2 separate regions of the Homo sapiens genome follow, and region 2 is linked to region 1. Evidence: promoter capture Hi-C in 16 types of primary human blood cells and fetal thymus (Javierre and others, 2016). All regions are on one chromosome and are shown on one strand. Each heading gives the region's core, a stretch centred on a gene start or on the middle of the fragment in contact. The rest is flanking DNA. Distances are from core to core; before and after follow the strand shown.

The links. Contacts are between HindIII fragments. The CHiCAGO score rates a contact against its expected background, and 5 or more counts as called.
Region 2: a contact is called between a fragment that was not itself captured here and the fragment with the promoter of ZNF451 in region 1, in 10 of 17 cell types (naive CD8 T cells, erythroblasts, total B cells and 7 more). The highest score is 8.4, in naive CD8 T cells.

What each region holds. Positions count from the first base shown.
Region 1 is chr6:57,087,701-57,093,290 of GRCh38, reverse strand. It overlaps ZNF451 (zinc finger protein 451), which reads right to left and starts at 3,103. Exons shown (of 15, transcript NM_001031623.3): 1 at 3,017-3,103; 2 at 2,397-2,480. The coding sequence starts at 3,037. RefSeq lists a silencer at 3,045-3,114 and enhancers at 2,535-3,417, 3,285-3,434. The HindIII fragment of the contact is 8,135 bases long and covers 1-5,590 here.
Region 2 is chr6:57,129,485-57,135,074 of GRCh38, reverse strand. ZNF451 (zinc finger protein 451) reads right to left here. Exons shown (of 15, transcript NM_001031623.3): 6 at 1,883-2,033; 7 at 205-331. The region is part of intron 2 of ZNF451-AS1 (ZNF451 regulatory antisense RNA 1); the gene reads left to right. Among named protein-coding and RNA genes, the nearest start is that of ZNF451-AS1, 40 kb to the left of the region's middle. The HindIII fragment of the contact is 3,325 bases long and covers 917-4,241 here.

The DNA.
Region 1 (5,590 bases), core at 1,854-4,353:
ATATCAATAATCTTGGCTGAAACCTGAATCTCTTGTATTGTTTTGTTAGCAAAATTACGATAGGTTCCCTCAGCAGTTTGTATACCTTCATATCTAGAACAGCACTGTGAACTATCACATCATCAGCTATTAGTTTTTTAGAAGTAAATCACATAAAAAATCTGCAATTTCAAAGAAAGATATAAAAACAGTAGTTGAATAAAGGATCATATTACTAAACAGAAATAAGAACAACAGACCTAAATAAGAAGTTTTTGTTATGGCAGCATTCTGTTTCTTGATTTAGGCGCTGTTTACATAGATGTATGAGGCTTTGCAAAACTTTATCCAACAAGTATACTTATGAATTGTGCACTTTTATGTATATTTCAATAAAATTTAAATGAGAGGGCCCATTTTTGCACCCCCCTCCATATCTATATCACTCCTTTCCTTCAGCATGCTGTGTTTAGTTTCAGATTCTGTATTCTACAAATCACAGAATAACTCCTGGGCCACCAAGTGGACTAAAAGTGGGAAAATTAGGTTAGTAAGAGCTATGAAATCCAAACCGTAAAAACGAAGAAGTAACATCACAATACTCATTTTTTATCTGAAAAAATCAAACTTTTTCATCTTTACTGAATAAGCATTACTGACTGGAGGAGCCACATATAGGATTGGATTCCAGAGAAAAGTAAAGATTCTGTCTCTGAATATATTTTGAAATATAATTAAGCTATTATTGTCATGTAAGTGGTGCCACTTAAATGTAAAGGGAAAATTTTTAATAGGCTTCTTCTAGTATTGTAATTACACTTACAACATATAATTCACTTCTCCATGTGGAACTGTCAAACCTCTGAACCTTTATTTGGGAACAAGAGTAAGAAGTTGTATCATGTCAGATATTCAATGATTGTACATTCTTTACTCTTGATGCAAAGACGGAAGTGATCCTCTACATTCAACATAAAATTTAAAGACTCCTTTAAACCAAAGGTGAACTCAAGCCTACATTAACTAGTCACAAGCTACACTGTAATTCATTACACAAAACATTTTTCAAATATTAAGAGATGCTACTCGTGTTTCTCAAAAAGGGCCATAGTTCATAAAGAAGTATGTCATTCCTAGTATTATTTCTACTAAACACCATAAGAAAAAAATTCTCTTCACAAATATACCAAGATTCAGGAAGAACCTGAAATATCTGTCCTCAAGAGCCATGGAAACCTGTTATTAAACATACTTCAGCGCATGGTGAAGGAAAGGACAGGATACAATTCACCCCCATCCTCTACTCCAAATCCGTAGAAGATCAAAATGAAAAGGAGAGAGTACAACATACACTGGTAAAGGGAAAGAAATTCAATAAAACAATCTTGTGAAGGACTCCTAAACAAATCTATTAAAATACCATACAAAAATGAATTACCAAAATGGCCCTAATGCTGGGAAAGAAACTGTTTAATAACCAATTTTACAAGGTTTCCCAGCATCCACCATAAATGCACATCTGACACTCAACGAAAAATTCTACAGCTTGAATACCAAACTGCAACTAACTACGGCATTCCAAAAGACGAGTTGGGGACAGAACCGTTTTCTGCCTGGCGAGCTGAGATACCACTTTACGCAAAGCCTTTCTAAAACTCCAATAATTATGGAAGAAAATCACCCCAAAATACATCATAAAACACTCTCTTCTGCTTTGGAAACCCATGCTGTACAAAGTGTGCTCAGAAATCCTTATGTCCCTGCACTTGTCTGAAAATGAAGATTCCTAGGCCCCCGCCTGGAAATTCTGATTCGGTAGGTCTGCAGTGGGGCCCAGGAATCTGCCTGTTTATACTTACTAAGGCTTGAAAACTACTGTCTCAAAGGGAACAAACTCAGAAAAATAGAGCATGTTCCCAGTGATGTAGGATTCTTCATTATGAGCATCAACTGTACTATGCCGTAACATGATGATCTCAGAGGTTAGAGAAATCTTCAAGCTATTTGCCTTCATGTTAGAAGCACCATAACGCTAAGATTCTGGGCTCTCACAACCCTTCCTGTTTTCTACGTCCTTGCTCATCATTAGCAGCTCCTTCCTCCGTGTCGCCTTTAGAAGTTACTCTTGCTCCATTTCAAAACAGCGTTTTAGACACCAGCGTTTTTATCTTAAGTTTAAATGAAAGGCAGGGGGCGAGATTAAGTGTACAGCACGTTCTTTAGGACGTGCTCTTTGTGATGGCTACGGGGGTGGCTCAGATAGCTCTTTTGGTAAATTTCCCAATCCTGCGCCATGCTCCAGTGTCTAGTATGTATTAGACACTCATGAACATTAAATGACCAGGTGAGGTAACATTACATAATGGCCCACCATAGTCTTTTACTCTGGGAAAACCCCAATCATCATTGCTACTTACACTGACAAACTGAATGTCGTCTTCATTTTCATCCGTTGTTGACTCAGATGCCTCAGGGCCAGCTGGAGGGACAGATTCTATTATCTATAAAAACAAGCCAAAACATGCTTATCTGTTCAGCCACATTCGTGTAGGAAGAGAGCGTTTCCGAAAGGAACAATTAAAGACAGAGAGCTCTTGAGGAAAACGAACTGAGCACAATTTCACGGAAACCCGACTAGGAACGGAACTCGAGCTCTGGCTCTTGCCACAGAGTGTGCGGAGCTGCAGGGACCCAACGCTGAAAACGCGTTAGTTACCAGCCTCTCACAATTCCCCTTATCTACTCCAGGAGGAACGCAAGCTCAACACCGAAGGGCAATCCTGCCTTAAAACGTCGCTCCCACTGGCCCAGCCGCGGCCACAACGAACGCCAGGGCCCGTGCGGGGGGCCGGGCGGCCATTGTTGCTGCGGGTTCCTCGCTCAGACACGCACCAGGCCCCAGAGCTGGGCTCGGCCCAAGACACTGAAGAGGTATCGCCCCGAGGCTGCGACGGAGCACCAGGCCTCAGACCGCAGAAAACACAAACCCTTCGCGGTTCGCCTCTGAGAACGCCAGGACCCTCACTCGACTACTCACCTCCGACCCCGGGTCTCCCATGTCTCCGACGGCCGCGCTGACAGCACCACTGCTCCTGCTGTCCCTGCCGCCGCCGTCGCCACGAATCCCCTTCCCGCCCTGCACCGCCTGGCGCTACCGGGACCCGCCCCTGCGTGAGCGCCGACGCCACCGGCGGAAAGAGACGCAAAACCTCTTCAAAGGAGGAGCGGCCCTTACTGGCCCGCTATGCCCCCGGAGCCGCTTTCTCTCACTCCCGGGCTTCCTTCCCCGCGCCGCGCAGGATGCTGGGAATTGTAGTTCGGGTCCGCCCCGAGACCGCCCCTCGCCGGAGAGGAAAAGAACCATGCGCCTAAAAGACGCCAGCTGCAGTGGGTGGGGCGAAGCCAGGGGCCAGCTGGGTCCTGTGAGATAGCGAAGCACTGGGAAGATGTGGGAGGATGTGAAGGAGGGTTTGAGTTGGTATTTGTTTGGTTTTGGTATGGTTGTGAAGCGCAGCTCATTGATTTTTCTGTTTTAGCCCTGAAGGTGGGTGGTGGGAACGGATTTCTCTTTTTTTCCTTTCATTTTTAAATTTATGTATTTACTCATTTTTGAGGACAGGGGCTATGTGGAGGTTTAGCTGAATCCTAGGATCAGGAAAGAATCTGAAGTATCCTTACATTACACACCTCTTCCCTAGCGTCAGTCTCCCAGGCCCTGCCAGTATTAATACACCTGAGGAAGAAAATAGGGATGGGAAATCCAGGGCCCAATAGGAAAGGGAACCGAGGTCTACCTAACTATCACTAAACCCTAGCCAGTGATTTTGAAATGCACTTTTTCAATATTCTCAGATATACTGAGAGAATATGAGAGATCTATTTATAGACTGCTGTAAGGTTGACCTTTTAACCTTTTGTGTGTTCACACTCATAAACCAGTCTATAAAATAGATCTTTTATATTCAACTATGCATTTAATCTGTTCTCAGGTAATACCTTACCAAAAATTTAAAAAGGTTTTTTAAAAAAACACACCAATCGTTGTCAATAAAGTTTATGAAAAGAATTAAGTGATAACATTATTTTAGGCCAGGCGGGTCCTCACACTCTGGGAGGCCGAGGCGGGCGGTTCACTTAAACCCAGGAATTCGAGACCAGCCTGAGCAATAAGAGGGAACCTCGTCTCTACAAAAAATACAAAAATTAGCTAGGCGTAGTGGTCCTTGCCTGTAGTCCCAGCTACTCAGGAGGTTTAGGTAGGAGAATCGCTTGAGGCCGAGAGATTGAGATCCAGGCTGCAGGGAGCCAAATTCATGCCACTGCACTGCAGCCTGGGTGACAGAGCAAGACACTGTCTCAAAAAAAAAAAAAAAAAAACACAAATTATTTAACATCTCAGATTCCTGTTTTTGTTTGTATGCAAAACTACCATCTGATTGCCTAAGCCTGTAGTAATTATTGTTTAATATTTGACATTTCCTGCATTTCCACCAAGTGCTTTATGACTTTAGTTACTTTCTACCTAGTAAGTTTGAGACTTGTGGAAGCCAATTGAGAATGACAGACGTGCATGGGGAGTTCTTCAAAAGCTGTGTGTAAATTAAATATTTTTAAAACGTTAATGTGTAGGCAAAACTTGTATTTAAAAGCTCTTCCTAGTGGGCTGGTGAAAGTGTCCTCTAATATTTAATCAGTTGAGGCAGGAGTTAATGGGTAAAATTCTTGGAAAACAAGCAGTATGTGGCTAGACCCAAAAACTTCTCACACCATACAACTCAGTAACTGTAGTTGCAGGGATTTTCCTGAAGATACATCACAGGTTTTTTTATAACAGCAAAAACTGGAAAATATCTAAATGTCTAATAATTGGGGAATGTAATGTTTAAATTTTGGTATGTATGCTATAAAGATAACATTACAGTGTTTTATCTCCACTGAAAATGTTTACCTAACATTTCTCAAAGCATATTTTTCAAAAATTCAAGAAATATATAGGATAATTAGAACCATGTTGTATTCGTTCTTGCACTGCTATAAAGAACTACCTGAAACTGCGTAATTTATAAAAGAAAGAGGTTTAATTGGCTCACAGTTCCACAGGCTGTACAGGAAGCATGGCTGGGGAGGCCTTGGGAAACTTAAAATTGTGGCAGAAGGTGAAGAGGAAGGAGGAACCTCTTTACATGGGCAGAGGAGGAAGAAAGCAAAGCAGGGAGGTGCTACACACTTTTTAACAACTAGATCTCGTGAGAACTCACTCATTATTAGAGAACAGCAAGGGGGAAATCCGCCCCCATGATCCAATCACCTCCCACCAGGCCCCTCCCCCAATATTGGGGATTACAATTCCACATGGAATTTGGGTGAGGACACAAATCCAAACCATATCACATGTCAAGCCATCAAGAAAAGCATCCCTGAAAGAGAAAACCTACTTAAACAGGAATAGTAATTTATTTTTTTTCTGGGCAGCTGGACTATGTGTTTACAAGAAAATCCAGGCTGGGGGTGGTGGTTCACACTTATAATCCCAGCACTTTGGGAGGCAGGAGGAATGCTTGAGCCCAGGGGTTCAAGACCAGCCTAGGTAACATAGTGAGACCCTGTCTCT
Region 2 (5,590 bases), core at 1,330-3,829, 42 kb before region 1:
AGGACTGCTGACTGTAAGGTATCAAGTTTACCTGCCTATAATAACTAAATGGCCCAAATCATTTTATTTTCAATTGACAATTACAGTTTTGATACTTATGTGTATCACTGGTAATTGCAAGCTTAAGAACAGCAGGAAAAAACCTCCACTTAACTCCATGGCTATCTAGAAAAATAATACTTTTAATTTAGGACATGCTCTTACCTTATCAAAAAGGTGATCTCTATATTGTTGTTGAGTAACAAATTTTTTATAACATACTACACAAGCAAAGGAGCTGAAGAAAGGTCCATGTAGTGTAATTGTTGGATCACATGGAGAGTGATCGAACCTACTCAGCAAAAGAGGTAAGAGGTAATATTAGATAAATCTACATTCTAGGGAAACAACTATGTCGCTTCATTTGTGAAGCTAAACACATACACACACATTCAGAACTTTGCACTTTTCTACTGAAATATTAAGTAATGTTCTTCATATACAGTAAATATCAAGTGGTTCCCATATGCTCAGCAATTCCCTCAGATAGTGACCAACAGTTAGTGCAAGATTTCATATGTACTAAATATCCGGTAAAATAGATTTAGACATTTCTTACCAAACTGGTAAACTTCTCGTTTGAAAATTGTAAGTCCAGCATCTTTTACTTCTTGCCTTGGTTACCATAAGACTCACAACTAACTTTAAATACATCACTGCAATAATAATCTCATGCTAAGATTTCTAGTACACTTGTTTCCCATAATGGCTTTTAATGTTCATTTTTACCATTTAATAAATCTGCATTATTTTAAACTGCCTGGAGCACTTTAGCTAAGGTATAGTATGCTATCAAATTTTGTTCCCTCCCCGACCCCAGGTCCAGCTTTGACTTTACCTGGTTTTTTATAGAATGCTACAACTCCCTCTAGAAGCTTCTCTTGATAAGGTAAGGCATAAGTAGGGTGAGACATATGGAAAAGACAATGGCTTAGAGCCCCAAACTCTCAATTTCCCATTCTTCAGCTATTAGAAAGGGAGGCTATGGGGAGTCGAATGTTTAATACAACCTTCCCTTGATACCTTTCTCAAGCTCCACTATTCAAAAATTCAGTAAACTGGCCGAGCGCGGTGGCTCACGCCTGTAATCCCAGCACTTTGGTAGGCTGAGGTGGGCAGAATGCTTGAGCTCAGGAGTTCAAGACCAGCTTGGGCAACATGGCAGAGCCACGTCTCTGCAAAAAATACAAAAATTAGCTGGGTGTGGTGGCGCACAACCTGTAGTCCCAGACACTCAGGAGGCTGAGATGGGAGGATGGGAGGATCCCTTGAGCCCAGGAGGTGGAAGCTGCACTGCACTCCATCCTGGGCGACAGAGTGAGATCCTGTCTCAAAAAAACAAACAAACAAACAAACAAACAAAAACCACCAAACTCAGTAAATTGATAAAATGGGTTTCAATAAATAGAATTTTTATTATTAATTTTGCTTACATCAGTTTGCTTTTAACATTTATTTTGTAATGCCTATTACCTTTCTTCAGGCTAGACCAAATGTCTGTACACGCTCCTTGTCTCTTGAAATTTACATTTATGGGCTGGATTTCTCTAAAACTAACCTATCTGGATTTTGATGGAGAAAGTCTGTTTAGAACTTTATAAGCTGTATCAGGGAAAAATAAATATTTAAAAGCTATACCCATAAAGCTGAAAGCTACACCCACTAGAAAAATCTGACTTCATCAATTATGAAAAAATTATATCATAATGGCACAAAATAATTTGAGTTTGGAATATAAAGCTATATAATCATAATGGCAAAGGAGCATTACGCTTTCATTTTATGAAATCACTTGGTAGCTCACTAGATCTTCAGCATTCACTATTATGAATATCCTACTTACCTTTTCAAATGTCCTAAGAGAAGGTGCCCATTGTCAAACTCCTTGTTACAGTGCATTATAGGACATAAAATTGGTTTCCCAGACACCCACGTGTGGCCTCCTCTTCGGAATGAACTTTTTGTTCCACAATTAATTGTGCCTGTTTTGAGTCCTGCATCATCAGAATATGAATTCTTAGGTTATTATTTCAGATACTTATCCTTTGGGCTAGTGATCAAAATTAGGACAAAACAATGAAAATTATGACATAGCATCAACTGGATGATGCTAATTATAATTGTTTAAAACCTCTCTTATAAAAGATATAATAACCTAAAAGTAAATAAGTTATGACCAAAAAAAAGCCCTTAATATCACCAAGTAGCATTCTCTTTTTTTTTTGAGATGGGCATCTTGCTGTATTTCCCAGGCTCAATCAATTCTCCTGCTGTCGCTCAAACTACAGGAGCACGCCACCATGCCCAGCTCCAAGTAGCTTTTTTCCCTTTAGGGAAAAAAAATCCTTTTCTTTAAGCTCAACAGCTAAAAAATGTTAAAGACCAAATGCATTAGAAGGTTACGCCCCTACTCCCTTCATTTTGAGCAGGTGGGCCTATAGGCACATGCCACCATGCCCAGCTAATATTTTTATTTTTTGTAGAGACAGGGTCTCTCAATGTTGCCCAGGCTGGTCTCAAACTCCTGGCCTGAAGTGATCCTCCCACCTTGGCCTCCCAAAGTGCTGGGATTACAGGCATGAGACACTGTGCCCAGCCAGATCTTTTCCTCTAATTCTTATTTTCTCTTTTAACTATTTCAACTGTGTTATAAATTTAGCTATATTATAGAGGGTCTGAGCTCTATGAAAATTATATTACACAATGTAACTGGGGTAGAGAGGATGGAATGAAGAAAGCAGGGAAGCAAGGAGGATAAGTGTGTTATTTTCTGAGGAATCAAGCCACTGATCAATCAGTTCCAGTCTAGACACATCAAGTAATACAAGTGTAAGGGATAACACATTTATAGAACACAAAGCAGAGATTTACTTATTGTTGATACCTCTCCCCTTTCTACTTATCCTATTTTGTCCCTTCTCTTTTTCCCTTTAAAAAGCCAATTAGGAAACAGTTTGTCCACAATTTTTTTCTCTTAATTAATCCTCCTTTATCCTGGTCCATTCTTCATCCCTTTCTTTCTTTATAATTTTGATCTTAAGGTCACACAACTTGTAGATGAATCCCCCAGCCAAATGTCCTCGGGGCAACTCCCAACGCATGATATATGAAGAAAAATTTAAACAGTTAAGTTGTATAAAAAACAATTGCAAAACAACCACAAGTATTCTGATTCACAGACAGTTTGATTACTCTCTGTTTTATTACTATCTCTTGTGGACTAATTTCACTCAAATGCTTTGAATATTTCATACAACAAAAAGCTAAATATTTATCTTTATTGAATTTTCTACAAAGCCCCTAAGCATTTAAATAGAATTATTCCCTTAAGACAATATGATTTTTAAATCCCAAAATGGTTATATATGATTAAGGTTTTAATTGCTTTTCCTCTCTTTTAGTCTTTATTGGGGGAATACCTCTATCAAACTGTCAAAATGTTTATAAATATGTTCTGACAACAAATAATGGACAGCATGGAATTAATCATATTTTAGTCTTAACAAGGCATTAAAATGGCAATATACTTTAACATTCTTAATGTAGTAAGAATTATGAAAACTGTTATAATTGTCCACCCACATTCCAGATGTTTCCTATTAGGACCTTTATTTAGCTATAAATAGTGGCTCTGGATAAAAATAAAGTTGGAGAAGCCAATTTCTGGGTGGAGGGGTGGGGAGGCTTCCCCATGGAAAGGCAAAATACAGAGATTTAAACAGCTTTTGTCTTAAATAATACAGACAGCATTTTTAAAAATTATAATACTAAGTATTCAAATTTATGCAAACTGGCCAACTCTAAAAACCCATAAAGAATGGATTGTCCAACATTAGAATAATTATAAATAAGGTACTTAAAATACTTCTAATGAAAGAACTGAATTATAACAGCTGAGTACTGTATTTTGAAATAGATTGAATGAGTCCTTTAATGCTACTGAGAAGTAGAATCTCACTCTCTATAATTAAAGAGAACTGTGATTCCTCTCTATTCCCCAGCTATATGCTCTTAAAGGATCTCAGCACTCTCTAAAGCCCATTTATGGAATAGCACCATACCAAATATAGCCCAATACTACACAGCTGTTCAAGCAATAGATTCCAAACTTTATTTTTACATTGCCTCAGAGACCAAGCAAAAAGCTGAGCCCATCACACAAAAAAGATCATAACTACAGACCTTAACTCCAGGCTTAAGCTTATCAGCCATCAAAAAGCCAGTACTGAAAGGCAGAGAAAACACTAATCTTGAAAGTACCATAAAGACACAGCTAAATAACTCATTTGATCCCACTTGACCTGCTCAGGGAAATACATAAACAGATGCTCAAGATTCATTTTACAATGCATTATAATATTCTGACAACCTGGAGGCCAGATATTAAGCTTGAAGGGCATATTACTGGCCCGACTACCATTCTGTATAGGACTTGAAAGTGTCAGACTCATGAGATAATTTTTAGAAGAGATCTAGAGATGATAAAGTCTTCTAGTTCTAGTCCATTTTCCTATCCACCTAGGGATCTTTCCCAAAAGTACAGATGCCCTAGAAGAATCTCTGGAGATAATAAGGTGTAGGCATCTGTTTAAAAGGTCCCAGAATATTCTGACGCAGCAAAGATGACACCACTGAGCTAGTCATTAACTTCTTCCACTGAGAAGAATGTACATGAAGAGGGATTTTTAAAACTAAAAGCTTTCAAAAAACACCCCAAGAGGCAAAACCATTTACCATATTTTCTATGTGTCTTTTGCCAAAGTAGATCTGGAGTGCCATATAATTTTTTTGTTTAATAACAGTCAGATTTGGAGCCCAAGTTCTAGGCTTCCTTTCTGTGTTCATTATGCAAATATTTATAGCCTACCTCTATAAAAATTCAACCAACATTTATTGAGTATCTCTATGTTGAGCATTCTTTTAAGGAACTGACGCTAAAAAGTATTAGTAAGATTTGGTCTTTGTGCCCAAGAAGCACATAGCTGGGTGGAAGAGACAGACATATAAACGGATCAATCGAACATAATAAATACTGTATTAGTGAAATGAATAAAGTATTGAGATCACAGATGGCTGAGCAACCAAACTTATATAGAATAAATCTAGATAAGCTTCTCACATAATTGGACATGATATACAATAACCATATTCACTCAGCAATCCCTAATACTGTATTATTTGTTGGCCACGTATAAACCCCACAGGCAAGTAAGAAGAAAACAAAGAAAAAAGGTTTTTGGGGGCAGGAGGGGAGTTTGCGAGGCACAGGCAGGTTGATAAGGAGAAAATATAGTTTCAGGGGGTGCCAAGTGTCTAAAACATCGATTATGTCAGGTATCAAATGGAATGAACTGCTAAATACCAATACATGTAAATTATTAGAATTCTTTTATAAGTGGCAATTTGATTCCATTCAAAGCAAAGCCCTTGAAAACTAACTTTAGAATCCAAGATACCTAGGTTCAACAAAGTTAAGCATTGCATGCATAGATATTTCCATGAACTTTTGTAATTAAACTTTGTTGGATTAAATCCACAGCTACAGTTTCTG